Linked DNA regions of Homo sapiens: all the other regions are linked to region 1. Evidence: promoter capture Hi-C in 16 types of primary human blood cells and fetal thymus (Javierre and others, 2016). All regions are on one chromosome and are shown on one strand. Each heading gives the region's core, a stretch centred on a gene start or on the middle of the fragment in contact. The rest is flanking DNA. Distances are from core to core; before and after follow the strand shown. Region 1 holds the start of NTF4 (neurotrophin 4). Region 2 holds the start of KASH5 (KASH domain containing 5). Region 3 holds the start of FUT1 (fucosyltransferase 1 (H blood group)). Region 4 holds the start of SLC6A16 (solute carrier family 6 member 16).

Region 1 (7,948 bases), core at 3,697-6,196:
ACCCTGTCTCTACCAAAAAATACAAAAAGTAGCCGGGCGTGGTGGCGCACACCTGTAATCCCAACTAAGGCAGAAGAATCACTTCAACCCGGGAGGTGAAGGCTGCAGTGAGCTCAGATCACACCACTGCACTCCAGCCTGGGTGACAGAGCGAGACTCCATCTCAAAAAAAAAAAAAAAAAAAAAAAAAAAAAAAAAGCTTTTGGTCAAGGCCTCTGACTGCTCAACCCCCATTATCTCATCCTACCAGCCCATTCTGCAGACAAGGAAAACTGAGGCTACTTTCTGCAGCCATGCCCAGGATCCCACTTACCCCTCCTCCCCCATTCAGGCTTCTGGGGCCTTTCTGTTGGATTTTGCTGGCCCTACTCAACAGCTCTCAATGGACAGTGACCCCCTGATCCTAGCCAGGGGGCCGATGAGTTAGTCAGAAACTCATGCCCCACTCAAGCTGGACAAAATTTTTTTCTTTTTTTTGAAATGGAGTTTCGCTCTTTTTGCCAAGGCTGGAGTGCAATGGTACAGTCTTGGCTTACTGCAACCTCTGCCTCCTGAGTTCAAGCAATTCTCCTACCTCACCCTTCAGAGTAGCTTGGATTACAGGCATCCGCCACCACGACCAGCTAATTTCTTTATATAATTTTAGTAGAGTCGGGTTTTCACCATGTTGGCCAGGCTAGTCTCGAACTCCTGACCTCAGGTGATTCACCCACCTCGGCCTCCCAAAGTGCTGGGATTACAGGAATGAGCCATCGCACCTGGCCATCAAGCTGGAAAATTTTAAGGTCTGTTTCTTTCCCAATGTAGAGTAAAGGTTGGGACAGGGAAGAGGGCTAGAAACCTGACTTCAGCTCCCTGCCGAGGGCTGAACTCTCCAGCATCCTGATCACTTCTCATTCAACCTTGCTTGTACTCCTCTGTGATCGGTAGCTTATTACCTCAAAACAGAATATTCTAAGTCAACCTTTGCCCCCTCTTACCAAGTAAGATTTCCCATTTGAACCCCATCTCCCAGATACTTAAAGGCCTTCTGTGGGCCACGTTCTCAAGGTCCCCTGGCCATCTGCTTGCCTGTTCTAGTTTCTCTCCTCCTCCACCCACATCGTGAAATGTCCCCTCCCACTCCCCAGCAAGGTGGTGTCCTCTGAGACTGAGTAGTCAGCAACTTAACACCAAGGGCCACCAATGATCAAATCCATGAGAGTTGATCTGAGGAGTTATGTATTAGGGATAAGAAACAGTAAACACTCAGTAAATAGTGGCTATTATTATTATATCATCATCATTATTACCCTCAAGTTGCTCCAGGAGAACTCCTATTCAACCTCCAAAACCCCATGTGGTTTCACCCATCCTGCAGAGATTGAGCTCAAAATCAGAGAATTGTGATTTTGTGATTATTTGATGAGTTCCCAAACTGGGGTCCTTAGATCAGCTGGGCCATCCCTGAGGTCTCTCAGCATCCAGCTCTGTTATTTTCCTGGGCATGGGTCTCAGGCCCGGCCAGTCCGGCTGAGGAGTGTGCAGACGCAGGCAGTGTCAATTCGAATCCATCGCCAGCCCACACGGCCCTGGGCATCAGCGGTCAATGCCCGCACATAGGACTGCTTGGCCTTGCACTCAGATACCCAGTGCCTCCTGTCCACTCCCCGGCAGCCCCCTCCACCTGCCCCCGGGCCACCTTCCTCAGCGTTATCAGCCTTGCAGCGGGTTTCAAAGAAGTACTGGCGGAGGGGACTGCCGCCAGCTGCAGGCACCTCGCCCAACACCTCCACCTCGCGCCCACGCAAGTCCACAGCGGTCCGGCGGTCTGTCACCCAGCCACTGACTGCATCGCACACAGCCAGCTCACCCCGACGACTCGCTGGTGCAGTTTCGCTCACCCCACGCCGGCTGCGGTTGGCCGGGGCACCTGCTGACTCCCGAAAGGCCCCAGCCTCCAGCAGGAAGAGCAGAGGGGGCCCAGCAGGGGCACCCCTAGACAGGACTACTCGGGGGGAGAGAAGGTCCCACTCAGGGGCCAGAAAAGGGGGCAATGTTGAGGGTGGGGGTTGGGACTCAATTGGCACACTGGGGAGGAGGAAAAGGAGGAGGATGGGGAGGGAGCATGAGGGGAGAGGGAGCATCTCTCGGAGCACCTGGAGACAGAAAGAGGGAGGCTGGGATTAGAGAAGGGGGTAAAAACTTCAGTGGGGAAAGAAGTTGGGAACCCCAGGGGAGGCTTGCCTGCCAGGATTGTGGGGAAGCCCTTGTTCTAGAAGTTTGGGGGACCCTATATCTAGGGCTTGCGTAATGCGCAACTTGTAGATTAATAATAAATATTCAACTACTACAGGCCAGGCACTGTGCCCCACACCTCTAATCCCAGCACTCTGGGAGGCTGAGGCAGGTGGATGACTTGAGGTCAGGAGTTCCAGAGCAGCCTGGCCAACATGGTGAAACCTCATCTCTACCAAAAATACCAAAATTAACCGGGCATAGTGCTGCACGCCTGTAATCCCAGCTACTCAGTAGGCTGAGGCAGGAGAATCACTTGAACCCAGGAGGCCGAGGTTGCAGTGAGCAGAGAGTGCACCACTCCCCTGCCACCTGGGCGACAAGAGTGAGACTCTGTCTCAAAAGTAAAAATAAGGCCAGGCATGGTGGCTCACACCTGTAATCCCGGCACTTTGGGAGGCCGAGATGGGCGGCTCACCTGAGGTGAGGAGTTCCAGACCAGCTTGGTCAACATGGTGAAACCCCTTCTCTACTAAAAATACAGAATTACCCGGGTGTGGTGGCGCATGTCTGTAATCCCAGTTACTTGGGAGGCTGAGGCAGGGCAATCACTTGAACCCAGGAGGTGGAGGTTGTGGTGGGCTGAGATTGAACCATTGCACTCCAGCCTGGGCAACAAGAGCGAAACTCCGTCTTAAAAAACAATAATAATAATAAAATAAAAATAAAAATAATTCAACTACTATTACTTAACAGTAACAGATGTTGAAATACAGGCTCAGAGAAGTTAATGATTTGTGCCCGGTCACACAGCCAGCAAATGGCAGAGATGGGACTTCACCTCTGGGCAACTGCACTCTGCCGTCCTTCCTGTGCAACTCTGAGGAACCGACAGTCTTGCATCTTGGAGGATGTTCCAAACAATTTTTTTTTTTTGAGACAGAATCTCACTCTGTTGGCCAGGCTGGAGTACAGTGGCACAATCCTGGCTCACTGCAATGTCTGCCTCCTGGGTTCAAGTGATTCTCCTGCCTCAGCCTTCTGAGTAGGTGGGATTACAAGCACCTGCCACTGTGCCCAGCTAATTTTTGTATTTTTAATAGAGATGGGGTTTCACCATGTTGGCCAGACTGGTCTTGAACTCCCAACCTCAAGCAATAGTCGTGTCCTGGCCTCCCAAAGTGCTGGGATTACAAGCATAAGCCACCATGCCTGGTCCCAAACAAAATTTTTTTTTTTTTTTTTTTGAGATGGAATCTCCCTCTGTCGCCCAGGCTGGAGTGCAGTGGCACGATCTTGGCTCACTGCAAGCTCCGCCTCCCAAGTTCATGGCATTCTCCTGCCTCAGCCTCCTGAGTAGCTGGGACTACAGACTCAAGCCACCACGCCTGGCCACATTCCACAATTTAGAGAAAGGTCACAACCTGGAATCCTAGGGAGACCCCAGTTCACCTCAAAACTGCCACTAAGGAGGTAAAACGCTGCCCCTCTGAGGCAGGCTTCAGTTTCCCTGTGTGTGAAATTGACCTGGCGCTGGGAGAGGCTGGTGGAGGCGCGGATTTTGCAGTTTCCCTACAACATTCTGGAAGCCTGTGGTTCTGGGAAAGGGTGGCGTGGAGAAGACTGGGAAACAGTCAGTAGTTACCAGACCTGTCAGCACCTCCTCCGCCTCGGAGCTCTGGGGCTGGGAGTCCCCAGGCTTCGGGGGGCCCCTGTGGAGGACACAGGTGGCCCCCTCCTTCCTGACATCTCAGGAGAGGGAGGGGGCAACCACCTAGGGGAAGAAAAGAATAGACAGGTTATAGAGGCAGGTGGGGAAGGGGCCAAATCCCTGAACAACCCCTTCCCAGAGTTCCTCTTCAAGTGCAGGGTACCCAAGAGTCAAGGCCCCGCCCCCTTTCCAGAGGCCCCTTTTCTACCCAGGTGATGGCTCCTGGCTGGGATGGGAAGCAGATGGAGGGAGGGGAAGGGAGAATAGGGGAAGGGAGAGGCAGTGGATGAAGGAGGCTGGAAGAGATTACATCCCCCTCGGCCCATTCATCTCCCAGATGGGGCGGAACTGGCCTGGACACCCGGGTCCCTGAGGGCCCACACTCAAGAAGCCCTGGTTCCCCAAGCTGCTTCCTGGAATGTTCCCTCCTCACAGGACAGGCCAGGGCCCGCCCAAGACTTCTGCACATACCTGGAGTGGCTGCCTGCCCTGGCTCCTCGGTACAGGAAAGGGGAAGGGTGGAGAGTGAAAGGAGCCCAGGCTGACCCAACCAGGACCGCCTTCTCCCTCAGACCGAGTAGTGCAGACCCCAGGGCCTCCACCTTCAGACCCAGGAGTTCAGATCCCCAGCGCCCTCCTCCCTCAGACCCAGGAGTAGTCCAGGCCCCCAGCGCCCTCCTCTCTCAGACCCAGAAGTCCAGGCCCCCAGCACCCTTCTCCCTCAGACCCAGGAGGAGTCCAGGCCCAGGCCCCCAGCACCCTTCTCCCTCAGACCCTGGAGTCCAGGTCCCCAGCGCCCTCCTCCTTCAGACCCAGGAGTCCATGCCCCCAGCGCCCTTCTCCCTCAGACCCAGGAATCCAGGCCCCCAGTGCCCTCCTCTCTCAGACCCAGGAGTTCTGGAATTCAGGCCCCTCCTTCTCGGATACTAAGAAATGCAGACTCCGGGTTCCTCATCCTCCAGATTTGGGTTGGGGGTTCCGGACTCCGAGACCCCTCAGGGGAAACCGGCTGCATATCTGGGACACTTCCCTCTTGCCTCAGTTTCCTCCGCCAAGCCCCGCCCCGGTCGGCCCCGCCCCCGTCCCTCCCCACCCGAGGGCAGGGCGACCAGGACGCCGGAATCCCGAGGGAGGAGGAGTGGAGATCTTACCTGGGGCGCCCTCTTCGGCTCCCGCGGCTGCCCTCCGCCCGGCAGCAGCTCCTCCTCCTGCTCGCTGGCTGCAGGGACGCTCGCTGGCCCGCCGGGTGCTAGCTGCTCACGCTCCGCAGGGCCCGGGTCGGGGGCGGGGGCGGGGCGGCGCCGGGCGGCAGAGGAGGGGCCGGGGGATCCTGCCTTGCACTCGCGTGCCGGGACCTTGGAAGCCAGGCCTGGCTCGTTCAACGCGGCCGCCTTGGTCACAGGAGTCCCAGTTTCCAGCTGCCTCCTCCTTTGGACCTAGCAGTCCAGGCCCCCAGCCCCTCCTCCCTTCAGACCCAGGAGTCCAGGCATCCGGCCCCTCCTCCCTCAGACCCAGGACTTGCGACCCCAGCCACCTCTCCCCCCAGCCCCAGGCGCCTGAGTACTAAGCCCACAGTTCCCCCCACCACCTCCCAACCCCGCCCCGTCTCAGACTCAGGAGTCCAGCCCCCAGCCTCCTCCTCCATTAGCCCCAGGAGTCTGGGCCTGAGATTCCTTTGCCGTCTTTTGCCAATTGCGTGTCAATCCCGGGGCAGATTCCCACCCTCTGCTCTCCTCCCCACTTCCCAGGAGCTCCACGCCAGACATTAACCAGCTGGGCTTGGGCAGTGATAAGGCCCCAGGCCCGGGGAGACAGTGGATGTGGGGGCTCCCGCATACTCCTCTCCCCTGGAATTTCCTGGCTGGGGACCGGGGAGAAGGTCTTGTCCTGAGCTCAGATAAGAGACGTGCAAGGTATCATAGGACCAGAGATAGACAGATGTGTCTTAAGAACAATCAGCTACCTTGAGAAATGGTGCGCGGTGACATGAAGGGAGAGATAGGGAGAAGACATGGAAAAGTGGGGAGAGACCAAAAGAAAGAGGGGGACCGAGACTAGAGAGAGTGGGGGAGGGCAGGAGCCCAGAGAGAAGACAGAGGCCCAGAGAGCGTGAGGGCAGACCCCCCCACCCCCCCGAGAAGGGGACAGAGCCCCTGAGAGACCCTGAGAAAGACAGGGATGGGACCGGAGCCGGAGTGTCTCAGGACAGTCATGAGGGCAGCGGGGCTCCTCACCCCACCACACCTCTACCCTGAGACTCCGCTCCCCTCCGCCTGCGCTATTTTCAGAAGGAAAACTGACACCTGCCTCGAGGGTCATCCCACACCCCCTCAGCCTAAATATAGCATGGCAAGGTGGCAGGAGGGTGTCCCCGGTTAGGGTGTTTCCTGCTCCTCACCATCCCAGCCAAGGCAACACACAAGGCCGCTCCAGTTATTTATTGGGGGTGGGGGGAAGGGCCACTTCCCAGGCTTTGGGTGTGCATTCAGGTCACCTCTCCGGCTTCTCCACCCTTCCCCTGTTCCTAAACAGCCAATACATCCTGCCGCATAGCAGGAGGACTCTAGCTTCTAGCTTCTAGCTTCTAGTCCTGGAGGGGATAGTAGGGATGAGGTTTCCAAACAGAGTGACTGGGAAACAGTCTCTGTCCCCCTATCTCCAGGTCTCTGTTCCCCTCCCTCTGGATTTCTGTCTCCCTCCAACTCTGGGTCTGTCCTTCTCTCTCTGAGTCTCTGTCCCCCTCTCTCTCTGGGTCTCTGTCCCTCTCTCTCTGGGTCTCTGTCCCCCTCTCTCTCTGGGTCTCTGTCCCCTTCTGTCTGTGGGTCTCTGTCCCTCTCTCTCTGGGTCTCTGTCCCCCTCTCTCTCTGGGTCTCTGTCCCCTTCACTCTCTGGGTCTCTGTCTCTCTCTCTGTCTCTGGATCTCTGTCCCCCCTCTCTCTGGGTCTCTGTTCCCCCCCAGGTCTCTGTCCCCCCTTCTCTCTGGGTCTCTGTCCCCCTCTTTCTAGGTCCCAGTTTTCTTCTCTCTGGATATCTGTCCACCCTCTCTGGGTCCCAGTCTCCTTCTTGCTGAGCCTCTTGCATCCTCTCTCTTGGGGTCACTGTCTGCTTCTCTTTCCCCTCGTGGGGGTCTCTGTTCCCGCTCCCGGCCATCTGCCCTCTTCCCCCTTGCCCTTGGATTTCTCTCTTTTGCTCTGTGCCTCTCCTCCCTCCTGGCCTCAGTTCCTGTCTGTGTCTCCTCTTTAGGTCTCTGTGCTGGAGTCCAACCTGTCTCTTGTCACTGTGAGGTCCGTCTCCATTCTGTCCCTAAATCTGGCTTTCTCTCCATTTCAGAGAGAAGTGACTACCTAAAGCTTCTATTAATTTCAACCATTATCAAACTCCTCTCACCATCTGTACCTTCTCTTTAGCTGTATGAAAAGGTGCTCAGATGAAACCAGGGGTTTCCACACTGAATTCCTGAGCTGCATTTTGAGTTGCCAAGAGGAGGCGTGTTCTCCTCCAACCAGTTCCCTTCCCATGCTTCCCACTGGTGTCTCTAAGGAAGATTTATTTGACCCAAAAAAGGGGTGGGTATGGCTAAAAATAACAACAACAGTCTGTAAACCACTGGATAGGTTTTAATAAATTAACCCAAGTAAAGTACTTTGATACCAAAGGAAGCCCTATATGTGTTAGTGATTTCAGCCTTCTTCCTCTAAATGCCCTTTGAGTTCTGAAAGATTTCTGAAAATGTTCGGCCTTGTGACCTTGGGTAACACCTGCTGCTCTGAGCCTCAGTTTCCCCGTCTGTAAGAAATGAGGCTACGGGACTCAGGAGGACCCGTGTGTCCCAGCAGGCTGATGGGGACATGTGAAGCAGACAGACAGCCTGCCTGGCCCCTGGGGACAAGCTGTGAGACCTTGGGAAGCCACTCCCCTGCTCTGAGACTCAGGTTTCTCCCCTGGAAAACAGAGTGAGGCCCCCAGCCTGTCTGACAGCCTTCCTGAGCTGCAGGGAGGGTAGGTGACAGGCCTGGTTCA
Region 2 (7,948 bases), core at 3,571-6,070, 320 kb after region 1:
CTACTCAGAGGCTGAGGCACGAGAATCACTTGAACCCAGGAGGCGGAGTTTGCAGTAAGACAAGATTGCGCCACTGCACTCCAGCCTGGGCCACAGAAGGAGACTTTGTCTCAAAAAAAAAAAAAAAAAAAGAAAGAAAAAGAAAAGAAATTAGGGTAAAAGTTACCCCTAGGAGAGTAGGGACTGGAAGGAGCCATGAGGAAGAATCTTGGAGGCAGGTAGTATGTTGTATCTTGATCTCGGTTTAGATAACACAGATGTGTTCAATTTCTGAAAATTCATAAAGCTTATCACTTATGATCTATGGACTGTTCTATATAAATATTACACTTCACTAAGAGTTTTGGTAAAGTCAAAAATCAGCAGTCAGCATAAAACAAAACCCAACTATATGCTGTTACAAGAGACATGCCTTAAATATAAGCACACAAAAAGATGGAAAGTTACAGGATGAAAAAGATACCCTATATAAACACTAACCAAAGAAAGCTGGAGAAATCTCTACATCAAAGTAGCCATTAAGGCAAAAAGCATTGCTAGAAGTAAAAAATGACATTTCAAGGTAATAAAGGGGTCAAGTCACCAGGAGGATATAACCATTCTAAATCTGTATGCATTTAATAATACAGCTTCAACATATATAAAGCAAAAATGACAGAACTGAGAGATGGAAAAATCCACAGTCATTCAGTACAAGAAGCAAACAGTGAAGATATTAAAGATTTGAACAGCATGATTGACAAACTTGACCTGACATAGCTGACCTGCAGGATACACACTCTGTTCTTTTCTTTTTTTTTTCTTTTTTTTTTTTTTTTGAAACAGAGTTTCACTCTTGTTGCCCATGCTGGAGTCCAGTGGCACAATCTCGGCTCATTGCAACCTCTGCCTCCCAGGTTCAAGCAATTCTCCTGCCTCAGCCTCCTGAGTAGCTGGGAAGACAGGCGTGTACCACCATGCCTGACTAATTTTTTTTTATTTTTAGTAGAGATGGGGTTTCACCATGTTGGCCAGGATGGTCTCAAACTCCCAACCTCAGGTGATCCGCCTGCCTCAGCCTCCCAAAGTGCTGGGATTACAGGCGTGAGCCACCACACCTGGCCTTTTTTTTTTCTTTTTTTTTTTTTGAGATGAAGTCTCGCTCTGTCTGGCCCAGGCTGTAGTGCAGTGGCGCGATCTCAGCTCACTGTACCCTCCACCTCCTGGGTTCAAGCAATTCTCCTGCCTCAGCCTCCTGAGTAGCTGGGATTACAGGCACATGCCACCACATCTGGCTAATTTTGTATTTTTAGTATAAACGGGCTTTCACCATGTTGGCCAGGCTGGTCTTGAACTCCTGACCTCAGGTGATCCACCCAACTTGGCCTTCCAAAGTGCTGGGATTACAGGTATGAGCCACCACGCCAAGCTACTCTTTTCAAATACACATGAAGCATTTGCTAAAATAGATGAAATCGTGGACTATAAAGCAAATCTCAACAAATGTCAAAGAAATGAAATCATATAGAGTATGTTTGTATGTTTTCTGACTACAGTGAATTAAGTAGGAAGCAATAATAAAAAGATAGCAGGGGGCCGGGCGCAGTGGCTCACGCCTGTAATCTCAGCACTTTGGGAGGCTGAGGCAGAGGAATCACAAGGTCAAGAGATCGAGATCATCCTGGCCAACATGGTGAAACCCCGTCTCTACTAAAAATACAAAAAAAAAAAAAAAGTTGGCTGTGGTGGTGCGTGCCTGTAGTCCCATCTACTCAGGAGGCTGAGGCAGGAGAATCACTTGAATCCAGGAGGCAGAGGTTGTAGTGAGCCCAGATCACGCCACTGCACCCAACCTGGCGACAAAGCGAGACTCCGTCTCAAAAATAAATAAATAATAAAAAGATAGCAGGGAAGTCATAAAATATTTGGAAAGTAAGCAATATATCTCTAAAAATTATCACTCAGGTCAAATTAGAAAATATTTTGAATTGATAATAATGGAAACGTGGCCAGGCATGGTGGCTCATGCCAATAATCCCAGCACTCTGGGAGGCTGAGGCAGGCAGATCACTTGAGGTCGGGAGTTCGAGACCAGCCTAGCCAACATGGAGAAACCCCCATCTCTACTAAAGATACAAAAATTAGCCAGGTGTGGTGGTGCATGCCTGTAATCCCAGCTACTCGGGAGGCTGAGGCAGGAGAATCATTTGAACCCAGGAGGCAGAGATTGCAGCGAGCCAAGATTGTGCCATTGCACTCCAGCCTGGGTGACAGATCGAGACTCTGTCTCAAAAAATAATAATAATAATAGAAATGTGGCATAACAAATGTGTCAAGTGTAGCTACAGAAGTTTTTAGAAGGCAAATGATGGCTCTAAACGCATGTATTAGAAGAGATCTTTAAAAATCAAATGACCTGGCTGGGCACATGACCTGGCATCAGCACGGTGGCTCACGCCTCTAATCCCAGCACTTTAGGAGGCCAAGGCAGGCGGCTCACCCGAGGTCAGGAGTTCAAGACCAGTCTGGCCAACATGGTGAAACCCCGACTCTACTAAAAATACAAAAAATTAGCCAGGCATGGTGGGGCACGCCTGTAATCCCAGCTACTCAGTAGGTTGAGGCAGGAGAATCGCTTGAACTCGGGAGGCACAGGTTGCAGTGAGCCAAGACCGCACCACTGCACTCCAGCCTGGGTGACAGTGAAACTCCGTCTCAAAAAAAAAATCAATGGCTTAATAACCTAAAAATATCAGTGACCTAAGCATTCACCTCAAGAAGTTGGGGGGAAAAAGCTGGAAAAAGAACAGCAGATCATGCCGGGCGCGGTGGCTCACGCCTGTAATCCCAGCACTTTGGGAGGCCGAGGCGGGCGGATCACGAGGTCAGGAGATCGAGACCATCCTGGCTAACACGGTGAAACCCCGTCTCTACTAAAAATACAAAAAATTAGCCGGGCGTGGTAGCGGGTGCCTGTAGTCCCAGCTACTCGGGAGGCTGAGGCAGGAGAATGGCGTGAACCCGGGAGGCGGAGCTTGCAGTGAGCCGAGATCGCCCCACTGCACTCCAGCCTGGGCGACAGAGCGAGACTCCGTCTCAAAAAAAAAAAACAAAAAAACAAAAAAAAAAACAGCAAGATCAGGGGCTTGAGGGCACATGGCTGTAGTCCCACCTACTCAGGAGGCTGAGGTGGGAGGATTACTTGAGCCCAGGAGGTGGAGGCTGCAGTGAGCTAGGGTCACATTACTGCACTCTATCCTGGGTGAGAACCTGTCTCAGAAAGAGAGGAGGGGGGAGGGGAGGGGAGGAAGGGGAGGGAGGAGGGGAGGCAGTGGACGCGGAGGGGAAGGGAGGGGAAGGGAGGGGAAGGGAGGGGAAGGGAGGGGGAAGGGAGGGGAAGGGAGGGGAGATAAAGGGAGGGGGAGGGGAAGGGAGGTGGGAGGGGAGATGAGGGGAGGAAAGTGGGGGGAGGAGAGGAGCAGAGGGGAAGAGAGGGGGAGGGGAGGGGAAGGTACGGGGGAGGGGAGATGAGGGGAGGGGAGTGGGGGAAGGGGAGGACAGGAGCAGAAGGGAAGGGAGGCGGGAGGGGAGGGGAAGGTACGGGGGAGGGGAGATGAGGGGAGGGGAGTGGGGGAAGGGGAGGAGAGGAGCAGAGGGGAAGGGAGGGGGGAAAAGAGAGATGGCACAAATTATTAATATCCGTCACCACAGATCTTACAGATATTAAAAAGATTGGGCATGGTGGCTCATGCCAGTAACCCCAGCACTTTGGGAGGCCAAGGTAGGAGGATCATTTGAGGGCAGGAGTTCGAGACCAGCCTAACATAAGACCGTGTTTCTCCCCCTCCAAAAAAAGACAATATTATGAACTTTATGCAAATTATTTGAAATTTTAGATAAAATGGAAAAATTCCTTGAAAACCACAACTTACCAAAACCACAACTTACCAGAAATAAAATAGAACATCTGAATAGTTGTATTTTTATAAAAGAAATAGAATTTGTAATTTAAAGTCTTTCCACAAAGAAAACTCTAGGTCCAGATGGCTGGTGACTTCTTCCAAACACATAAAAAATAAATAACATCAATCCTACACTAGCACTTTCAAAGAATAGAAAAAGAGAGAACACTTCTCCACACATTATATCAGCATAGCCTTGTTAACAAAACTCAACAGGGATCTCACAGAAAAGAAAAGAAAAGAAAATATGGCAATACATAAAAAGGACAGGCCAGGCGCTGTGTCTCACGCCTGTAATCCCAGCACTTTGGGAGGCCGAGGCGGGTGGATCGCCTGAGGTTGGGAGTTCGGTACCGGCCTGGCCAACGTGGTGAAACCCCGTCTCTACTAAAAATACAAAAATTAGCCAGGTGTGGTGGCGGGCGCATGTAATCCCAGCTACTCGGGAGGCTGAGGCAGGAGAATTGCTTGAACCCGGGAGGCGGAGGTTGCAGTGAGCTAAAATTGTCCCACTGCACTCCAGCCTGGGCGACAGAGCGAGACTCCATCTCAAAAAAAAAAAAAAAAGAAAGAAATGGGGGACGGACAAGGAGTCTCTCAGTTCAATTCCCCCTTCCTCAGCCCATTTCACCAAAGCCTGAAGCGGAAGAGAAAAACACGAGCCCCAGCATGGCGGGCGCAGCCACCCCCTCCTTCCACCACCAGACAAACTCCGTGGCCACAGCCCACACCGCCAGCGCGCATGCGTGACACGCGTCGGCCGCCGGTTTGCACCTGCGTCTTAAGAGGAGTCCGGGCGGGGAGGGGCGGGGCTCAGACGCTGCGCACGCGCACTCGCGACCCCTCGCCTCCTTTTGCTTTTTCTGGCGGGAAAAGCTCACGCGCACCTCCCCCAACTCAACTGCCGTTCGTCGTTCGTGGATGTCCGTTGTGTCCCGAGACTAGGACGTGGCTCCAGGTGCGCCCTGCCCCGCGGCGAGGTTCCCAGAATGGCCCTTCCCAGCCCCTACCGAAATCCTAGCGAAGCCCCCCCATATTGTGGGAGAGATACCCCTGCGTCAGGGCCCCCCAGATCCTGACCACTTGGGAGGCCGAGGCGGGCGGATCACGAGGTCAGAAGATAGAGACCATCCCGGGGAAGTGAAACCCCGTCTCTACTAAAAATACAAAAAATTAGCCAGGCGTAGTGGCACGCGCCTATAATCCCAGCTACTCAGGAGGCTGGGGCAGGAGAACTGCTTGAACCTGGAAGGCAGAGGTTGCAGTGAGCTGAGATCGCGCCACTGCACTCCAGCCTGGGTGACAAGAGTGAGACTCCGTCTCAAAAAAAAAAAAAAAAATCCTGACCACATCCCCTCAGATATACTGAAAGGAGTCCACCAGGAAATCTTATAGTTGACCCCCGAAATCCTGTCAGAATCGTCTAGAAATTGTCAGACTTCTCCCTCAGAGCCTGCCAGAAACTTTCCCCAAAATCCTATTACTCTCCCCAGATCAGCAGAGCCACCTAGACTCGTGTCAGAGATCCCCAGAAATCCTGGCAGGTCCCCTCCCAAACCCAGTCGGACCTCAGATTCCGTCAGAGAGCACAGAAGTCCATCAAAGACACCCCAGAAACGGAGACCCCGAAATGCACTCAGAGACCCCCGCAGAAATCAAGACCCTCCAAATCCAGCCAGAGACCCCCAGAAATCCAGTCAGACCCCTGCAGAAATCAAGACCCCCAAAATCCAGCCAGAGACCCCCAGAAATCCAGAGACCCCCGCATAAATCAAGACCCCCAAAATCCAGAGACCCCGAATAAATCAAGACCCCCAAAATCCAGTCAGAGAACCCCCAGAAATCCAATCAGACCCCCGCAGAAATCAAGACCCCCGAAATCCAGCCAGAGACCCCTGAAATCCAGTCAGAGACCCCCACAGAAATCAAAATCTCCAAAATCCAGCCAGACACTCCCCAGAAATCCAGTCAGAGACCCCCCCAAAATCCTGTCAGAGCCCTTGAAAGCCCGCCAAGGCCCACACCACCCAGAGCTCCTGCCAGGGCCCCATCCTGCTTCAGTGTCCCCGTCTCAGTCCCGTCAGACCCCCGAGATCAACCAACACCCCCGGGGTCCCTCAGGACTCCATCCCGAACCCACTCCGTGCGCCAGGGCCCAGCCAAGGCCATCGCCCCCCTTTGCACCCTGCAGGGTGTTCCAGACCCTGGAAGGGCCTCTCTTCAAAGACCCGTGTTTCCAGAACGGTGGCAGCGGGCTCACGTGGCTTGGGGAGAGCAGGCACTGGGGGAGCTGGGTGAGGACAGGCGAGCCCAGGCTCGACTGGTGGCCCCAAGGGGCGCCCGTGCCCGCTGTGATGATAGCAGCGCCCAGGTCTCTCTCTAGCCCCCAGAGTGCGGCCACTAAGGTTTTGGGTCGGCCTGGGTGGAATGGAGGCAGGATGGGGCCCCCCAAACTCCTGTCACTGCTGCAGGGACTGCCCAGAGCAGCTGCAAGTGGGGCTGGCAGGGATGAGGAGGAGGTGGCCTGGGCTTGGGGGACCATGTACATCCTGAGTTGGAACCCAGGGGAGCAGCAGGTTTGGGGCCATGATGAGGAGAGACCTAGGGGTTGCCCGACGGAGAGAAAAGGGACAGGAAGAGGCAGGAGCTTCAGAGACTACTCAATGCCACTCTAGCCTGAGGGACTGGAACTTAGTCCGGGGGCATTAGGGAGCCATGGGAGGATCAGGAGCAGGGGCAAGTCAGGATCAAACTCCCATGAGAAGCCAGCCGGCCAAATCCAGGCTGATGTGGCAAGAATGGCAGCTGCCCAGGGCTGTGTGGGAGCCAGACACGGCCCCTCGCTTCCCGGAAGAGGCCACGTGAAGCCGAAGCAGGATGCAGGAGGGCGTCCCAGGCAGAGACCTGGGCATGGGAGCGGTCCGCAGCTCAGAGTGGCTGGAGCATCATGTGCGATTTGGGGTGCTGAGGTGGGCGGTCAGCCATGCAGGGCCTTGGCGTCAGGGCCAGGGTCTCACCCGTACCCAGGATTCAGGGAGCCATGGAAGGGTACTTAGCAGGGGAGGGGCAGGTCAGCTCTGGGGCCCTGTGGGGACAGACTGGAGGACAAGCCTGGGGATAGGAGGCTGGGACAAAGGCCAGGGAAGAGGACCAGGCAGCCTGGACCGGCGGCAAGCCATGTGAAGAAAGGGAGGCAGTGACCTCCCCCACCCACCCACTAGCCCCTTTGATGTCAGCCACCTCGTTCTCCAGCCCACACCTCCAATCCATAAAACAGGTCAGAGCGGAGCTGCTCAGGTCACAGCGGGGGTGACAAACAGGTTGTGAGGACCCAGAGGTCCTGGGGCACAGGTGGGGCTAGGCAGGCCCCGACCCTTGGTGGCTGCTCTGAGGACACCATTTCCTGCTTCTCCTTCCAGGAGTGCTCGGGCCAGCTGGTCCTTTTCCCATCCCTCCCCATGAAGGAGGGAGGCTGGTAGCTTTGCCAGCAGCTGCGCCGCGGCAGGGGTGGCCCATGGACCTGCCCGAGGGCCCGGTGGGTGGCCCCACTGCGGAAAGTAAGTGGCTGGAACCCTATTTGCCCCGGGGAGGGTGAGGAGGGAGCCATGGGTGAATGGGTGCCAGGCTGTGACTCGGGGACTTGGGAGAGGTGGCTGGGGGTGGCTGAGCCTTTGCATGGGTGCAGAGTGGAAGGGAGGGAAGGGACTCTGGTAGATTAAGTGCCTACTCTATGCCCGCCCACCTGTCACTACCCCTTATCTCCTGTGGGGAGGCTGGACTGTGTGAGAGCGCAAGCAGCCGCACCCCTTACTCCATTCAGATCGCGGCCCAGATGGCACTTCTTACTTTATGTAAAGCAGCTGCCCTGTGACACTCTCTCCCCTGCCCCGCTTCATTTCTCTTCACAGTGCTCACATCTGTATGTCATGTTTTGTCTCTGTCTCCCCTGCTAGAGCATGAGCTCCACAAGGCAGCGTCTGTTTTATTCACTCTGGTATTCCCAGTCC
Region 3 (7,948 bases), core at 3,494-5,993, 310 kb before region 1:
AGTACCCCACCTTTTCCTCCACTCTCTTACACACACACACACACACACACACACACAAACCCACACACACATACACAGTGGCTCTGGCTCCAAAAAAGCTACAGAGACACGGGTTAGTGCTGTAGACTTTTAATTCATACCTCCTGCTCTCTCACCCGTGGCAGCTGAGTTGGGAACAGTACTGTAACAATTGTAACTGTAACTCCCTGATAAGCCTACAGGCATGGGGTCTGGATGAGTAGACAGGGGATGTGATCAGAGCTGACTATGTTTAAGGTTTCTTCTTTCACCCTCCAAAAAACAGCAAGGGGCTCCTGAGATCTCGACAACCCCGTCCACCTTGGCCAGACCTCGTGCTCCTGCCTGGATCTGAGGCTGGGTCCAGGGTCTGCCTACCTTTAGATCGTTTTATCTCAGACCTGCCCAAAGCCAGATGTAGTGGTTCTGGGAGTTCAGGGACAGACAGTGGTTAGCAATGAGCACGGTACCTGCCAGTTTGTCACAAGCACAGAGGGTGTGTTTATACCTGCACACTTCCAGAAAACAGATCCCAGACCCTCAGCAGCCCACCTGCAGACAAAGACCAACTTCCTTCATTGTGAGAGGCAACCTGAACTCACACCCAATATATGGAGCTCTTGGCAGTTTATGAGCTTTAAAAAAAAGTGTCCCTGGATCCCTGGAAAGTTCTGCTCCAGAAGCTGTACCATTTTGGCAGTGATCCCTCACCCCACGTTCACATTTTAGCCTGTCTGCTCAAAACAAACAAAAAAAAGTCTTTGAGGGGCTGTGGGGCTTGTTGGACAGAGTCCCGCTCTGCTCACCAACTACCCCAGCTTTTCCAGAGACTGTGAACAGAGCAAGACGCTGGCCAACTAGAGATGGTTTGTTTTCCATCTCAATTTTTCCAGCAATGGTGGAACATTCATTAGATGCTACAATTAGGTTGCACATTCATTAGATTCTTCACTTGGCCCGGTGTGCTGGCTCACATCTATAAACCCAGCATTCTGGGAGGCCAAGGTGGGAGGACTGCTTGAGCCCAGGAGTTGAAGAACAGCCTGGGCAATATCACAAGACCTCGTCTCTACAAAAATTAAAAAAAATTATCCGGGCCAGGCATGGTGGCTCACGCCGGTAATCCCAGCACTGTGGGAGGCCGAGGTGGGCAGATCACGAGGTCAGGAGATCGAGACCATCCTGGTTAACACGATGAAACCCCGTCTCTACTAAAAATACAAAAAAAATTAGCCGGGCGTGGTGGCGGGCGCCTGTAGTCCCAGCTACTCAGGAGGCTGAGGCAGAATGGCATGAACCCGGGAGGCAGAGCTTGCAGTGAGCTGAGATCGCGCCACTGCACTCTGGCCTGGGCTACAGAGCAAGACTCCGTCTCAATAAATAAATAAATAAATAAATAATTAAAAAAAAAATATCCGGGCTGGGCACAGTGGCTCATGCCAGTAATCCCAGCACTTTGGGAGGCCAAGACAGGTGGATGACAAGGTCAGGAGATCGAGACCATCCTGGCCAACATGGTGAAACCCTGTCTCTACTAAAAATACAAAAATTAGCCAGGCATAATGGCCTGTGCCTGTAGTCCCATCTACTCAGGAGGCTGAGACAGGAGAATCGCTTGAACACAGGAGGCGGAAGTTGCAGTGAGCCAAGATCACGCCACTGCACTCCAGCCTGGGCAACAGAGCGAGACCCTGTCTCCAAAAAAAAAAAAAAAAAACTAAAAAGATTCTTCACCTTAGTTATCTGGATTTCCAGAACCCCATCCTGTCCATAAGGGCCCTGCAGGGTTCTTCACAGGCATCAAACCTGGTCCTCTCTAGAACAAGTCTCCCTCTAGAATCACTCCAGAAACACAGAAGGGGACTTGGTGAATGCTTGCTCTGGAGCAATCATATGCTCCTTCAGTCTTTGGAGGACCCAGGGGAGAAGTAACCCCTCTTCTAGAGTAGACCAGAGGGAGAGTTCCCCATTCCTGGGGGCAGCCATCTGGAAGTACTGTAGATATGGGCTGGGAAGAGCAGGTGGGCACTGTGGCTTCTAGAACTGCCTGCCAGCCATCAGGAAAAGATGTTTTGCTAGTTCTAGAATATTCAGACAGTTCCAGAAACGTCCCCCTTCTCTCCAACTCTCCCAACTAGAATCACTCTGGATACGGGCACCCATTTGCTTCAGGAACACCACAAGCTTCTCCAGAAGATGCCAGGCCTCTGAAGCCACGTACTGCTGGCTCTAGAAAGATCAGGCTACTTCAGAAAGTCTCCCTGGCTCTCAAGGCTTAGCCAATGTCCAGAGTGGAGACAAGTCTGCATTAATGCCCACCCACTCGGGCAGGAAGGCCGCCTCCGGCTTAAAGATCTTCAGGAACTCAGAGTCTGGCAGGGTGAAGTTGGCCAGGTAGACAGTGTCTCCGCCAGCCAGGTAGGCAGCCCAGAAGCCGAAGGTGCCAATGGTCATAATGGTGTGGTTGCACTGTGTGAGCAGGGCAAAGTCTTTCCACGGTGTAGCCTCCTGTCCATCGCCAGCAAACGTCACATCGCCCTGGGAGGTGTCGATGTTTTCTTTACACCACTCCATGCCGTTGCTGGTGACCACGAAAACGGGGGCTTCGTGCCGTGCCCGGAACCAGTCCATGGCCTGCCGGAGGTAGGCGCTGTCGCCCACCACACCCTTCCAGCGCTGAGGCATAACCTGCAGATAGTCCCCACGGCGCACGTGGACGCCGACAAAGGTGCGCGGGCGGTCCCCTGTGCGGCCCAGGCGGAGCTGACCCAGCACACTCTGCGCCTCTTCCCGAAGGTGGTCGTGCAGGGTGAACTCTCTGCGGATCTGTTCCCGGAGATGGTGGAAGAAAGTCCAAGAGCAGGGGAAGCCAGAGAGCTTCAGGAAAGGATCTCTCAAGTCCGCGTACTCCTCCGACATCCAGTCGTGAAGCTGCAGCTCCCGCCACGGCGTGCGGCTGTCCACTTCTGGGGCCAGCACGGGCAGGGTGATGCGGAATACCGGGGCCAGGGCGGCATGCATGGCAGGCAGGATAAAGGCCCGGCGGCCGTTGAGCTGGGCCAGAGCCAGCAGCGTGGCATACTGTCCCATCTGATTACCAAACCGGCCATTGGGGTAGACAGTCCAGGTGCCGGAGAGGGAAGCAGGGTGCTGGGGACAGGAAGAGGAGGCGTTGGGGCCCATCGCAGTACCCGGCAGGCAGAAGATGGCCACTGGGGGTGTCACCAGGCGGCGGTCTGGACACAGGATCGACAGGCCTAGGCCATGTGGAAAGCTGTCTTGATGGATATGGAGGAAGAAGATTACAGAGAGGACACAGACTAGCAGGAAGGCCAGGCAGAGCTGACGATGGCTCCGGAGCCACATGGCTGCAGGGGAGGAAAGGCGAATTAGCAAATGCTCTGAGGCTGAGGAGGGGAGGCTGAGGAGGGATGTGGGGTAAGGGAGGCGCCTGGGGTGCAGCACTCCTTAGTCCCAGGGAAAGAGGAAGTTAAAGGTTTAGACTCCTGGGGCTGAGGTAGGGAGAGCCTGAGTCCTAGGTTTCAGGGATGAGAGCCTTGGAATTTCGGGGCATGGGGACTGGAAGACAAGTGGTTTTCAAGATAGCCATGGTTTGGCTGGGCACTGTGGCTCACACCTGTAATCCCAGCATATTGGGAGGCTGAGATGGGAGGATCCCTTGAGCCCAGGAGTTCAAGATCAGCCTGGGCAACAGAGCACTCTTACAAAAAAATTTTAAAATTAGCTTGGCATGGGCCAGGCGCGGTGGCTCACACCTGTAACCCCAGCACTTTGGGAGGCCAAGGTGGGTGGATCACCTGAGGTTGGGAGTTCGAGACCAGCCTGACCAACGTGGAGAAACCCTGTCTCTACTTAAAATACAAAATTAGCCGGGCATGGTGGCGCATGCCTGTAATCCCAGCCACTCGGGAGGCTGAGGCAGGAGAATCGCCTGAACCCGGGGGGCGGGAGTTGCGGTGAGCTGAGATCATGCCATTACACTCCAGCCTGGGCAACAAGAGTGAAACTCCGTCTCCAAAAAAAAATAAATAAAATTAGCTTGGCATGGTGGCACATGTCTGTGGTCTCAGCTACACCGGATGCTAAGGCGGGAGGATCCCCGGAGCTCACAATGAGCCGCGATAGCACCGCTGACTGCACTCCAGCTTGCGCGACAGAGAGGGACCCTGTCTTAAAAAAAAAAAAAAAAAAAAAAAAAGAAAGTGGTCCAGGTTCCTACACCTTTCCTGAAGGAATCTCGAGTCTCCCCTCCTGTAAGTTCCGCTGATACTGGACTCTTCCACCAGCCTGTTTCTCAGGAGTACCTGTCTGTGAGGCGCAAAATCCACCACAGAGGTGGTGATGGGAAACGATAGTTCAAGTAAAACAAGAGAGGCTGGAGGGTCAGGAGCGGAAGGAGCATCTTGGTTCCTGGAGGAGTAATGGCTGGGGAGGTGGCGGAGATTCCTAGGGCCTTAGGAAGACCTGGAGAAGAGGTTGGGGGTGCACCTCCTGGTTCTGAAGGAGTTGTTCCTGGGTCCCAGGAACAACTGAGTGGGGCAGTCCCCACTTACCCGAGCTGCTTGCAGGTGGCAGATCCACAGTCCGCTTTTCGTGGCCGGAGCGCACCCTCCGCAAAGGCAGGCCACATCCGGCCGCCCCTGGAACGCCAGGCGTCCGGCTATCCGGCCCGGCAGCCCTCCCCTCCGCGCAGCCTGTCCGGACTGGCAGCGAGGGCTTGGGGAGGAGAGGAAGGAGAGGGCGCGGCCGGGAGTCTCGCAGCGTCCGCCCTCCCGGGCCGGGCGGATGGCTGGAAGGTGGAGCCCCGCCCGTCACTTGGCGCCGAGCCCCAGCGCCAGGGGCTAAGGCGATGGCCCCTGGGCCCACCGCTCCCCAGATCGGGGATGCAGGGGACCGCGCCCTGCCCCTCCGCCCCGTCATTGACCTGCGCGAAGGCTTCACCCAGGGCAGGCTACCTGGCTTCTGAGCAGCCGCAGCATCATTGCGTGGACCAGGAGACGGAGCGCCCAGTTGCAATGCTGGAGCCGGGAGGTCCAATCCGCCGCCCTCTCTCTTCCGGTGCCAGGGCTTAGAGTCGGCCCCCGACACCTGGGTGCTTCGAGCCTGGCCACGCCCCAGCGGCTGGGCAGGGCCCCCGCACCTGGTCCCGGCGAGTGGAGCGATCGTCCGCCCTCTGCCGCGTCCTCCTGGGGGATGGAGAACCTGTTTGCCAGGCTGCCGCCGGAGCGCGCGAGGGCCTCCAGCCTGCAGGTGCTCCCGCGCCCACCAGGGTCTCCGATCTCCCACACCCCCCGCCTCACCGTCCACACTCAAATTCCAGAATCCCAGCCCCTAGTCACTCCTTTTGGGGAATTCTAGGGTCCCGTGCCAAACTGCTACTTTCCAGACCTGCACTGCACGAAGGCAACCATTCCAAGGCTGGAGACCGGAGTGGAACAGGGTCTGTTTCCCACGCCGTCAGCGGGGGCCGTGGCTGCCGGCGCCAGAGACAAAGGCCTCTGCCCGCTTGTCACCTAATTAAAGCATTTTCTCTGGTCCAAGGCCCACCTCCAGCATCGCCAACCCCGAGCAGGGCAGGCTAACGTAGGGTCCAGCCCTACGGGGCTTTGCGGGTGGGTGTTCTTCCCCTGTGAGGAGAGGAGAGATTGTAAGAAATAAAGACACAAGACAAAGAGATAAAGAGAAAACAGCTGGGCCCGGGGGACCACTACCATCAAGACGCAGAGACCGGTAGTGGCCCCGAATGGCTGGGCGCGCTGATATTTATTGTATACAAGACAAGGGGGGGCAGGATAAGGAGGGTGAGTCGTCCAAATGACTGATAAGGTCAAGCAAGTCACGTGATCATGGGACAGGGGGCCCTTCCCTTTTAGGCAGCCGAAGCAGAAAGAGAAGGCAGCATATGTCAGCGTTTTCTTCTCTGCACTTATAAGAAAGATCAAAGACTTTAAGACTTTCACTATTTCGGGCGGGCGCGGTGGCTCACGCCTGTAATCCCAGCACTTTGGGAGGCTGAGGCGGGCGGATCACAAGGTCAGGAGGTGGAGGCCATCCTGGCTAACACGGTGAAACCCTGTCTCTACTAAAAATACAAAAAATTATCCGGGCGCGTGGTGGAGGGCGCCTGTAGTCCTAGCTATTTGGGAGGGTGAGGCAGGAGAATGGTGTGAACCCAGGAGGCGGAGATTGCAGTGAGCCGAGATCACGCCACTGCACTCCAGCCTGGGGGACAGAGCGAGACTCCGCCTCAAAAAAAAAAAAAAAAAGGCTTTCACTATTTCTTCTACCGCTATCTACTACGAACTTCAAAGAGGAACCAGGAGTACGGGAGGAAAATGCAAGAGGACAAGGAGCGTGACCATTGAAGCACAGCACAGCAGGATGACTGCGGGCAGGCCTAGATAATACCCAGCCTCCCACAAGAAGCTGGTGGAGCAGAGTGTTCCCTGACTCCTCCAAGAAAAGGAGATTCCCTTTCGTGGTCTGCTGAGTAACGGGTGCCTTCCCAGACACTGGCGTTCCCGCTTGACCAAGGAGCCCTCAAGAGGCCCTTATGCCGGTGTGACAGAAGGCTCACCTCTTGCCTTCTAGGTCACTTCTCACAATGTCCCTTCAGTACCTGACCCTATACCCACCGGTTGTTTCCTGGTTATATTAGTTATACAACAAAGAATAAAAGTAATAGCTAATGATTAATAATGTTTACACTAATGATTGATACTGTCCATGATCATCTCTATATCTAATTTGTATGATAACTATTCTTATTCTAACTATTTTCTTTATTATACTGAAACAGTTTGTGCCTTCAGTCTCTTGCCTCGGCACCTGGGTAATCCTTCCCCACAGACTGACCCTCCCATTCAAGATACATCAATGTCAAAGACTCAGGAGTTTGACTTGATTCCCAGAAGTTTAACCATCATCTCCCCAGGCTCGGGACTCCCAGCACCCAGACCCTTCTGCTCACACCCAGCAGTCCAGGCCCCCAGACCCTCCTCCCTCAGACTTAGGAGTCCAGGCTCCCGGCCCCTCCTTCCTCAGACCCAGGAGTCCAAGCCCCCTGCCCCTCCTTCCTCAGACCCAGGAGTCCAGGACCCCAGCCCCTCCTTCCTCACACCCACGAGTCCAGATCCCTAGCCCCTACTCCCTCAGACCCAGGAGTCCAGACCAAAGCTCCCTCCTCCCTCAGACCCAGGAGCCCAAGTTCCCCAGCCCCTCCTCCCTCAGATCCAGGAGTACAGGCCCAGACCCTCCTCCCTCAGACCCAGGAGTCCAGGCCCCCCACCCCTCCTCCCTCAGACCCAGGAGTCCAGAGCCCCAGCCCTCCTCCCTCAGACACAGAAGGCCTACCCTTGCACCCTTAGGGGCTCCAGGAAATTAGCCAACCTGTCTTCCCTCTGGGTGCCCACTCCAGGGCCTGGCTTGGCTGCCAACTCCAGTCAGGGACTTTCAGCCACCCCTCCCCCCAGGTTATTTCAGGAGCACCTGCCTGGGCCTGGGATGGCTTCTCTGGTGAAAGAAACACCAGGATTGCATCAGGGAGGAGGAGGCTGGGATGTCCAGGGTCTGAGCATCTGAGCAGGGACAGATGAGGTTGAGGTTGGCCCACGGCCAGGTGAGAGGCTTCCAAGGCAGGATACTTGTGTCTCAGATGCGGTCGCTTCTTTCATACAGCAATTGCCGCCTTGCTGAGGATCAAGGAACCTCAGTGTCAGATCACGCCCTCCCCCCAAACTTAGAAATTCAGATGGGGCGCAGAAATTTCTCTTGTTCTGCGTGATCTGCATAGATGGTCCAAGAGGTGGTTTTTCCAGGAGCCCAGCACCCCTCCTCCCTCCGACTCAGGTGCTTGAGACCCCAGATCCTTCTCTCTGAGACTCAGGAATGTGGGCCCCCAGCCCCTTTC
Region 4 (7,948 bases), core at 1,658-4,157, 260 kb after region 1:
AATGAATTAATATCAATCCTTCTCAAACTTTTCCAAAAAATTGGAGAGGAGGGAACACTTCCTCATTCATCCTATAAGGCCAACATTGCCCTAATACCAGAGCCATACAAAGACATTATAAGAAAAGAACACTACAGACCTATATTCATTATGAACTTTGATGCAAAAATCCTCAAAAAAAATACTACCAAACCTAATTCAGCAGCATATTAAAAGGATTATATACCATGACCAAGTGGGATTTATTCCTGGAATGCAAGGATGGTTCTGCATACAAAAATCAATCAATATAATATACCACATTAACAAAATGAAAGAAAAATAATGATTCTCTCAACTGATGCAGAAAAAACATTTGACAAAACTCAATACCCTTTCATGATAAAAAAAAAAAAAAAAACTCAACAATCTAGGAGTTAAAGGAAAATACGGCTGGGCATGGTGACTCATGCCTGTAATCCCAACACTTTGGGAGGCCTGATGACCACTTGAACCCAGGAGTTCAAGACCAGCCTGGGGCCAGGTGCAGTGGCTCACATCTGTAATCCCAGCACTTTGGGAGGCCAAGGCGGGTGGATCACCTGAGGTCAGGAGTTCAAGACCAGCCTGGCTAACATGGTGAAACCTGATCTCTACTAAAAATACAAAAATTAGTCAGATGTGGTGGTGTGCACCTGTAGTCCCAGCTACTTGGGAGGCTAAGGCTGGAGAATCGCTTGAACCTGGGAGGCAGAGGTTGCAGTGAGCCAAGATCATACCACTGCACTCCAGCCTGGGTGACAGAGCAAGACTCCATCTCAAAAACAAACAAACAAACAAACAAACAAAATTTTTAATTACCTGGGTGTGTTGATGTACTTCTGTAGTCCTAGCTACTCATGAGGCTGAGATGGGAGAATCACTTCAGCCCAGGAGGTCAACGCTACAGTGAGCCATGATGACACCACTACACTCCAGCCTGGGTCACAAAGTGACACCATGTCTCAGCAAAAAAAAAAAAAGGAAAATATCCCAACATAATAGCCATATACGAAAAACTCACAGCAAATGTCATACTTAATGATAAAAGACTGTAAGCTTTTCCTCTAAGATTAGAAACAAGCGTAGAATGTCTAATTTTGCCACTTTTATTCAACATAGTACTGGAAGTCCTAGCCAGAGAAATTAGGCAAAAATATAAATAAATAAAAGGAAACCAAACTAGAAAGATTATATGATCTTATACGTAGAAAATCCTAAAATTTTCACCAAAAAAATTTTTGAGCTAATAAATGAATTCAGCAAAGTAGCAGGATACAAAGTCAACAATCAAAACTCAGTTGCATTTTTATACACTAACAATGAACAATCTGAAAAGAAAATTATGAAAACAATTCCATTTGTAATAGCATCAGAAAGAATAAAATACTTAAGAATTAACTTGGCTGGGCACGGTGGCTCAAGCCTGTAATCCCAGCACTTTGGGAGGCCAAAGTGGGCAGATCACCTGAGGTCAGGAGTTCGAGACCAGCCTGACGAACATGGAGAAAACCCGTTTCCATTACCAAGTTACCCAGGCATGGTGGCACATGCCTGTAATCCCAGCTACTCAGGAGGCTGAGGCAGGAGAATCACTTGAACCTGGGAGGCAGAGGTTGCAGTGAGCCGAGATTGCACCATTGCACTCCAACCTGGGCAACAAGAGTGAAACTCCATCTCAAAAAAAAAAAAAAAAAGAATTAACCAAGAAGGTGAAAGACATGTACAAAGAAAACTACAAAACATTGCTGAAAAAAATTAAAGGAGACATAAATAAATGGAAAAATATCCCATGTTCATGGGTTGGAAGACAACACTGTTAAGATGTCAGTATTACCCAAAGCAATCTACAGAATTAGTAGCTTTTTTTTTTTTTTTTTTTTTTTTTTTTTTTTTTTTTTTTTTTTTGCAGAAATAGAAAAACACGTCCTAAAACTAACATGAAATCTCAAGGGACCCTGAACAGCCAAAATAATCTTGAAAAAGAAGAAAAACGCTGGTGTACTCACATTTCCTGATTTCAAAACATATTACAAAGCTATAGTAATCAAAATAGTGTGTTACTCACATAAAGATACAGACCAAGGGAACAGAATAGAGGGCCCAGAAACAATGTATGGAAAAATGATTTTTTACAAGGGTGCCAAGACTACTCAATGAGTAAAGGACAGTCTTTTCAACAAATGGTGCTGGGAAAACTGGATTATGTACAGGCAAAAGAGTAAAGATGGACTCTTACCTAACACCACATACAAATACACAAAATAAATCAAAGACCTAAATGTAACACTTAAAATTATAAAATTCTTAGAATAAAACATACGACAAAAGCTTCATGATAGTGGATCTGCAATGAATTCTTGGATATGATACCAAAGGCAAAAGCAACAAAAGAAGAAACAAACAGGATTTCATTAAAATGTTTTAAATTTGTGCATCAAGAGACACTATCAAAGGGGTGAAAAGATAACCCACAGAATGGGAGGAAATATCTGAAAATCATATGTATAATAAGAGATTAATATTCAGAATATATAGAGAACTCGTAAAACTCAACAACAAAGAAACAAACAACACAATTCAAAAATGGGCAAAAGACTTAAATAGACATTTCTCCAAGGAAGATATACCAATCTCCAAGAAGTACATGAAAAGATGTTCAACGTCACTAATCATTAAGGAAATGCAAATGAAAACTACAATGAGATAATACCTCGCATCCATTAGGATGGCTAATATAAAAAGGCAGAAAATAAGAAGTGTTGGTGAGGATGTGGAGAAATTGGAATCCTTGTGCCTTGCTGGTCAGAATGTAAAATGGTGCAACCACCATGGAAAACACTATGGTGGTTCCTCAAAAACTTAAAAATAGAATTACCATATGATCCAGCAATTCCACTTCTGGGTATACACCCAAAATAAGTGAAAACCAAGCCTCCAGTGGCTCAGCCTGTAATCCCAGCTCTTTGAAAGGCTGAGGTGGAAGGATTGCTTGAGCCCAGAAGTTCGAGGCTGTAGTGAGAGGTGATCATGCCACTGGACTCCAGCCTGGGAGACAGAGAGAGACCCTGTCTCTTAAAAATAATAATAATAGGCTGGGCACGGGGGTTCACACCTGTAATCTCAGCACTTTAGGAAGCTGAGGCGGGTGGATCGGCTGAGGTCAGGAGCTCGAGACCAGCCAGGCCAACACAGTGAAACCCCGTTTCTACTAAAAATACAAAAAATTAGCTGGGGGTGGTGGCGCACGCCTATAGTCCCAGCTACTTGGGAGGCTGAGGCAGGAGAATCGCTTGAACCTGGGAAGCAGAGGTTGCAGTGAGCTGAGATCGTGCCACTGCACTCCAGCCTGGGTGACAGAGTGGGACTCCATCTCAAATAAATAAATAAATAAAAAATAATAGATTCATGTTTCTTAAACACATTCTAGAACAGTTGTCCTTAAAAGCAAGCTTTACGGAAGGGAGAGAACTGAGTTTTGGCCAGCTGGCCACTTCCAACATCCATAAAGCCCCTTGAGCCCCAGGCGGACTCCTCTTCCCATATGGGTGCAACCCTCCATGGTGCCCCTACACCGTCATCCCAAGCAACTCCTAGGCTCATGCCCTGTGGGGAGTGCTCAGGATCCCCCAGAAATGCCCATTCCCCTCACATTACCTCCTTCCCTGGAACTATAACCTCCAGAAAAGGAAAATAAGGAGCTGGTGTCCCATTTCTGCAAAAAGCAGAAAATAACTGCCCTAACAGACCAGTGATGGGGCTAGACCCGGGTTTCTGCCACTCGGGCACTTGACACTGATGGCTTTCCCCAAAGGCAGGGACTGATGGCCGAATCCTGTCAAGGAATTGGCTCAAACTCGGACTGGATGAGTGAGGAGAGCCGAAGACAGTTTCCTCTGTCCTACGTGGGGGGTAAAGGAGGGACCCCTTTGATCCCTCAGCTCCACAGAGCCCAGGGCAACCAGGAGGCTCCCAGCCAGTCACCTGTCACCCGTCAGTGGAGCCCAGTGGGCCCGGGCCTCGAAAATGGCGCCCAGCCCCACACACCCCAGATGTGGGAACATTTTAGGGCTCCCTGGGCCGTGACCCTCACCCTAGCCCCAAGGCTTCTGCCAGGTTCTTCAGTCCAGCCAGTCGGACAAAAATGAGGGTGAAGAAGCCCCAGCTGAGAAGCCTAGCAATCTCCTCAGGCCCCTTCAGGCGTCGACAGATCGGTTTGGGCGACACCCCTCGATCTGCCTGGCGCGCGGCCTTTCCCGCCGATTCTCTGCGCATGCGCCGCCGCGCCCCCTCACTCTTTCCCTACAGCTGTAGCAAACACTGTAACCACTTCGCCCTCCCCAACTCCCTGCTCTCTCCCCACACGCACGCACGTGTGCACATCCTCTGACTGCTCACGCGCCACTCCCTTCCCCACCGCACCCCACCCCGACACCCACGATGCCACGCTTCAGGCGGGGCTCTAAGACAAGGCCTTTCTCTGGCACATGCACTTTGCTTCCACTTCATGTAAGGAAGAAGAGGGTAGGAAGTGGGAGAATCGTCTCATTCATTCCTTCTAGCCTTCAAACCTTTCGCATTTACTTAAAGATCGCCTACTAGAAACCAAACCTTAAATATGCGTCCAACAAGGCAGACAGGGACGTTGCCTTAAGAGAGCTCAGAAGCCTACTAGGGCTGCAGACAAGAATTAAAAACTCAAAGATTTACTTAGGTCATCCGTTCTCATACTTTCCGGTCTCTTAAGAATTATTAAGGACTCCAATAATTTATGAGTTACATTTATATGGGTTGTATGTTTATGTGAGTTGTATCTATCAATATTAAAATAAATTTCTAAAATAGTCATTGTTTAAAAATTCATTATGTGTCAAAATAACATTTTTATTTAAAATAACTATAATTTCTACTCCAAAAGAAATTTTGGCGCTGGGCGCGGTGGCTGACGCCTGTAATCCCAGCACTTTGGGAGGCCAAGGCGGGTGGATCACGAGGTCAGGAGTTCGAGACTAGCTTGGCCAACATGATGAAACCCCGTCTCTACTAAAAGTCAAAAAAAAAAAAAATTAGCCGGGCGTGGTGGCACACACCTGTAATCCCAGCTACTCGGGAGCCTGAGGCAGGAGAATCGTTGGAACCCAGGAGGCAGAGGTTGCAATGAGCCGAGATTTTGCCACTGCACTCCAGCCTAGACAACAGAGCAAGACTCCGTCTCAAAAAAAAAAAGGAAAAAAAAGAAAAAATTTGGGGAGAAGAATGGCATCATTTTACATTTTTGCAAATCTCTCTAATGTCTGGCTTCATAGAAGACAGCTGGATTCTCATATCTGCTTCTGCACTGAGTGTGTCAAAATAGCTCATGTCTTGTAGCTTCTGGCAAACATCACTATATTCAAAGAGGAAATGAAAGTGAAAGGCAAATAATATCTTAGTAGTATTATGAAAATAATGTTCACCTCATGGACCCCCAAAAGTGTTTCAAGAGCCCCCAGGAGTCCCTGAGCCACACTTTGAGAATGAAAGGCTTAAATTGTTATGATTGAACAAAGAGATGAAGAGGAAATTTTGGGGGTGCTGTAAGAATTCATCACAATCTTTGGGAATCATTCAATCTTTCAACACGTATTTATCGAGAGTCTACTAAATGCTAGGAACTGGGAATAGTGTAGAGAACAAAACAGACCCCATTCCTGCCCTCGTTTTGCTTCACACAACAAGAAAACAGATATATGATGAATCTCAAATAATTACATGATTATAAATTGTATTAAGTGCTATGACAGGCCGGGCATGGTGGCTCACGCCTGTAATCCCAGCACTTTGGGAGGCCAAGGTGGGCGGATCACATGAGGCCAGGAGTTCAAGACCAGCCTGGCCAACATGGTGAAACCCCATCTCTACTAAAAATACAAAAACGAGCCAGGTGTGGTGGTGCACGCCTGTAATCCCAGCTACTCGGGTGGCTGAGGCACAAGAATCACTTAAAACCATGAGGCAGAAGTTGCAGTAAGCCAAGATCACACTACTACACTCCAGCCTGGGTGATGGGGTAAGACCCTGTCTCAAGGAAAAAAAAAAAAGTGCTGCGACAGAAAAGGGCCACAGACCTATTTATTTCTATCGAATTTTTTTTTTTTTTGAGACAATCTCACTTTGTCACCCAGGCTGAAGTGCAGTGGCATAATCTCGGCTCACTGCAACCTCTGCCTCCCGGGTTCAAGCAATTCTCCCTGCCTCAGCCTTCCGAGTAGCTGGGGTTGCAGGTGCCTGCCATTACGCCTGGTTAATTTTCATATTTTTAGTAGAGTCAGGGTTTAGTAGAGTCAGCCTGCCATGTTGGCCAGGCTGGTCTTGAACTCCTGACCTCAGGTGATCCGCCCGCCTCAGCCTCCCAAAGTGCTGGGATTACAGGCGTGAGCCACTGCGCCCGGCCCATAGACCTAATTTAGAAGGAGGATTTCTCTAAGGAAATAACACTGGAGTTGAGGCTTAAAGGATTATTTGCTAGGTGAAAAATGTGTGTGAACATCTCAAGCCTTGAGGCTGTGCAAAGGCCCTGAGGCAGGGCAAACTGTGTGTTCAAGGCACCAGGAAAAGTCTCAGTCGGTCAATAAATATTTATTGAATGATGTGCCCCACACTGTCCTAGACCCCTGGGATATAGTTATGAAAAAGATTTTACGTTCCAGTTGCACAAAGAAAGTAAATGCCTAAATAGAAAGAATTTCAGAGAGTAAGAGTGCTGATAGGGAGTTACTTTAGACAGGGTAGTCAAGAAGGACTCTTGGGGAAAGTGATATTTCAGCAGAGAGCTGAAGGAAGGGAGCCTTGTGAACAGCATAGGGAAGAACATTCCAGGCAAAGAAAATGGCAACAGCAAAAGCCTTGAGGCAAGAAGTACACTTGATGGGTTCTGGAAATGGCAAAGAGTCTGATATGAATGGATCCCAGTGATTGAGGAAAGGGTAGCAACAGATCAGATCAGAGCAGTGGCAGGGGCCAGAGTATTATTTGGAGGCCCTTATAGGTCATGGTCGGAATTTTTTTCTTTTTTTTCTGGGTGAGATGAAAGCTATTTGAGGGTTCTGAGTCAAGGAGTGACTTTCATTTTAATGGCAGGCTCCCCCTGGCTTCTGGGCAGAGAATAGCATGTATGGGTGTATTCCTCTGTTTTCACACTGCTGTAAAGAACTGCTCAAGACTGGGTAATTTACGAAGAAAAGAGGTTTAATTGACTCACAGTTCAGCTTGGCTGGGGAGGCCTCAGGAAACTTACAATCATGGCAGAAGGCAAAGGGGAAAAAAGGCACCTTCTTCACAAGCAAAGGAGGGAAGAGCCCCTTATAAAACCATCAGATCTCATGAGAACTCACTCACTATCACAAAAACAGCCTGGGGAAACCACCCCCATGATTCAGTTACCTCCACCTGGTCTCTCCTTTGACACATGGGGATTATGAAGATTATAATTCAAGATGAGATTTTGGGTGGGGACACAGCCAAATCATAGCAATGGGCTAAAGATAGAAGCAGAGAGCCCAGTGAGGAGGAAATCTCTAGTCCAGGCAAGTGATGGTGTTGATTAGATCTGGGTAATAGCAATGGAGATGGTGAAAAGTGGTCAAATTCTGGATCTATTTCAAGAATAGAGCCGACATGATGTGTTGATGGATTGTGTGGTGGTTTTAAAATACGTCTGCAAATTCTTCAACACTTTGAAAGATAAAGTCTATTTCCCCAATCTTTGAGTGCAGGCTCTCCTTAGCAACTGGCTTCCAATGAACATAAGTAATGGTGGGGAACTTCAGGACTAGGTCATAAAAAGCATTGCTGTTTCTTACTTGCCCATTCCCTTCAACTGATTTCTGTAAAGGAAGCCAGTCACCATACGGTGAGGACACTCAAGCAATCTGTGAAGAGATCCATATAA

What was found. The method cuts DNA at HindIII sites, captures the fragments that hold promoters and counts their contacts. A CHiCAGO score of 5 or more calls a contact.
Region 2: a contact is called between the fragment with the promoter of KASH5 here and the fragment with the promoter of NTF4 in region 1, in 1 of 17 cell types (erythroblasts). The highest score is 5.7, in erythroblasts.
Region 3: a contact is called between the fragment with the promoter of FUT1 here and the fragment with the promoter of NTF4 in region 1, in 1 of 17 cell types (neutrophils). The highest score is 5.3, in neutrophils.
Region 4: a fragment that was not itself captured here is called in contact with the fragment with the promoter of NTF4 in region 1 in 1 of 17 cell types (endothelial precursors); the score reaches 6.0 in endothelial precursors.

Annotation. Positions count from the first base shown.
Region 1 is chr19:49,059,872-49,067,819 of GRCh38, forward strand. It overlaps NTF4 (neurotrophin 4), which reads right to left and starts at 4,947. Exons shown (of 2, transcript NM_006179.5): 1 at 3,868-4,947; 2 at 1,257-2,138. The coding sequence starts at 2,126. The coding sequence ends at 1,494. KCNA7 (potassium voltage-gated channel subfamily A member 7) reads right to left here. Exons shown (of 2, transcript NM_031886.3): 2 at 7,526-7,948. The HindIII fragment of the contact is 7,079 bases long and covers 198-7,276 here.
Region 2 is chr19:49,383,429-49,391,376 of GRCh38, forward strand. KASH5 (KASH domain containing 5) reads left to right here and starts at 4,821. Exons shown (of 20, transcript NM_144688.5): 1 at 4,821-4,899; 2 at 7,361-7,498. The coding sequence starts at 7,456. LOC101928295 (a long non-coding RNA gene) reads right to left here and starts at 4,653. Exons shown (of 3, transcript NR_110729.1): 1 at 3,928-4,653. The HindIII fragment of the contact is 10,613 bases long and covers 285-7,948 here.
Region 3 is chr19:48,747,898-48,755,845 of GRCh38, forward strand. FUT1 (fucosyltransferase 1 (H blood group)) reads right to left here and starts at 4,744. Exons shown (of 2, transcript NM_001384359.1): 1 at 4,593-4,744; 2 at 114-3,386. The coding sequence starts at 3,384. The coding sequence ends at 2,287. It overlaps FGF21 (fibroblast growth factor 21), which reads left to right and starts at 7,627. Exons shown (of 4, transcript NM_019113.4): 1 at 7,627-7,887. RefSeq lists enhancers at 1-78, 3,101-3,740, 4,946-5,532, 6,849-7,714, 7,715-7,948, a silencer at 4,781-4,830, promoters at 7,230-7,948, 7,339-7,948, 7,465-7,948, 7,503-7,594, 7,540-7,948 and cis regulatory regions at 7,351-7,911, 7,546-7,558, 7,586-7,594. The HindIII fragment of the contact is 14,557 bases long and covers 2,201-7,948 here.
Region 4 is chr19:49,320,937-49,328,884 of GRCh38, forward strand. SLC6A16 (solute carrier family 6 member 16) reads right to left here and starts at 4,255. Exons shown (of 12, transcript NM_014037.3): 1 at 4,112-4,255. RefSeq lists an enhancer at 5,419-5,568 and a silencer at 6,362-6,513. The HindIII fragment of the contact is 1,121 bases long and covers 2,348-3,468 here.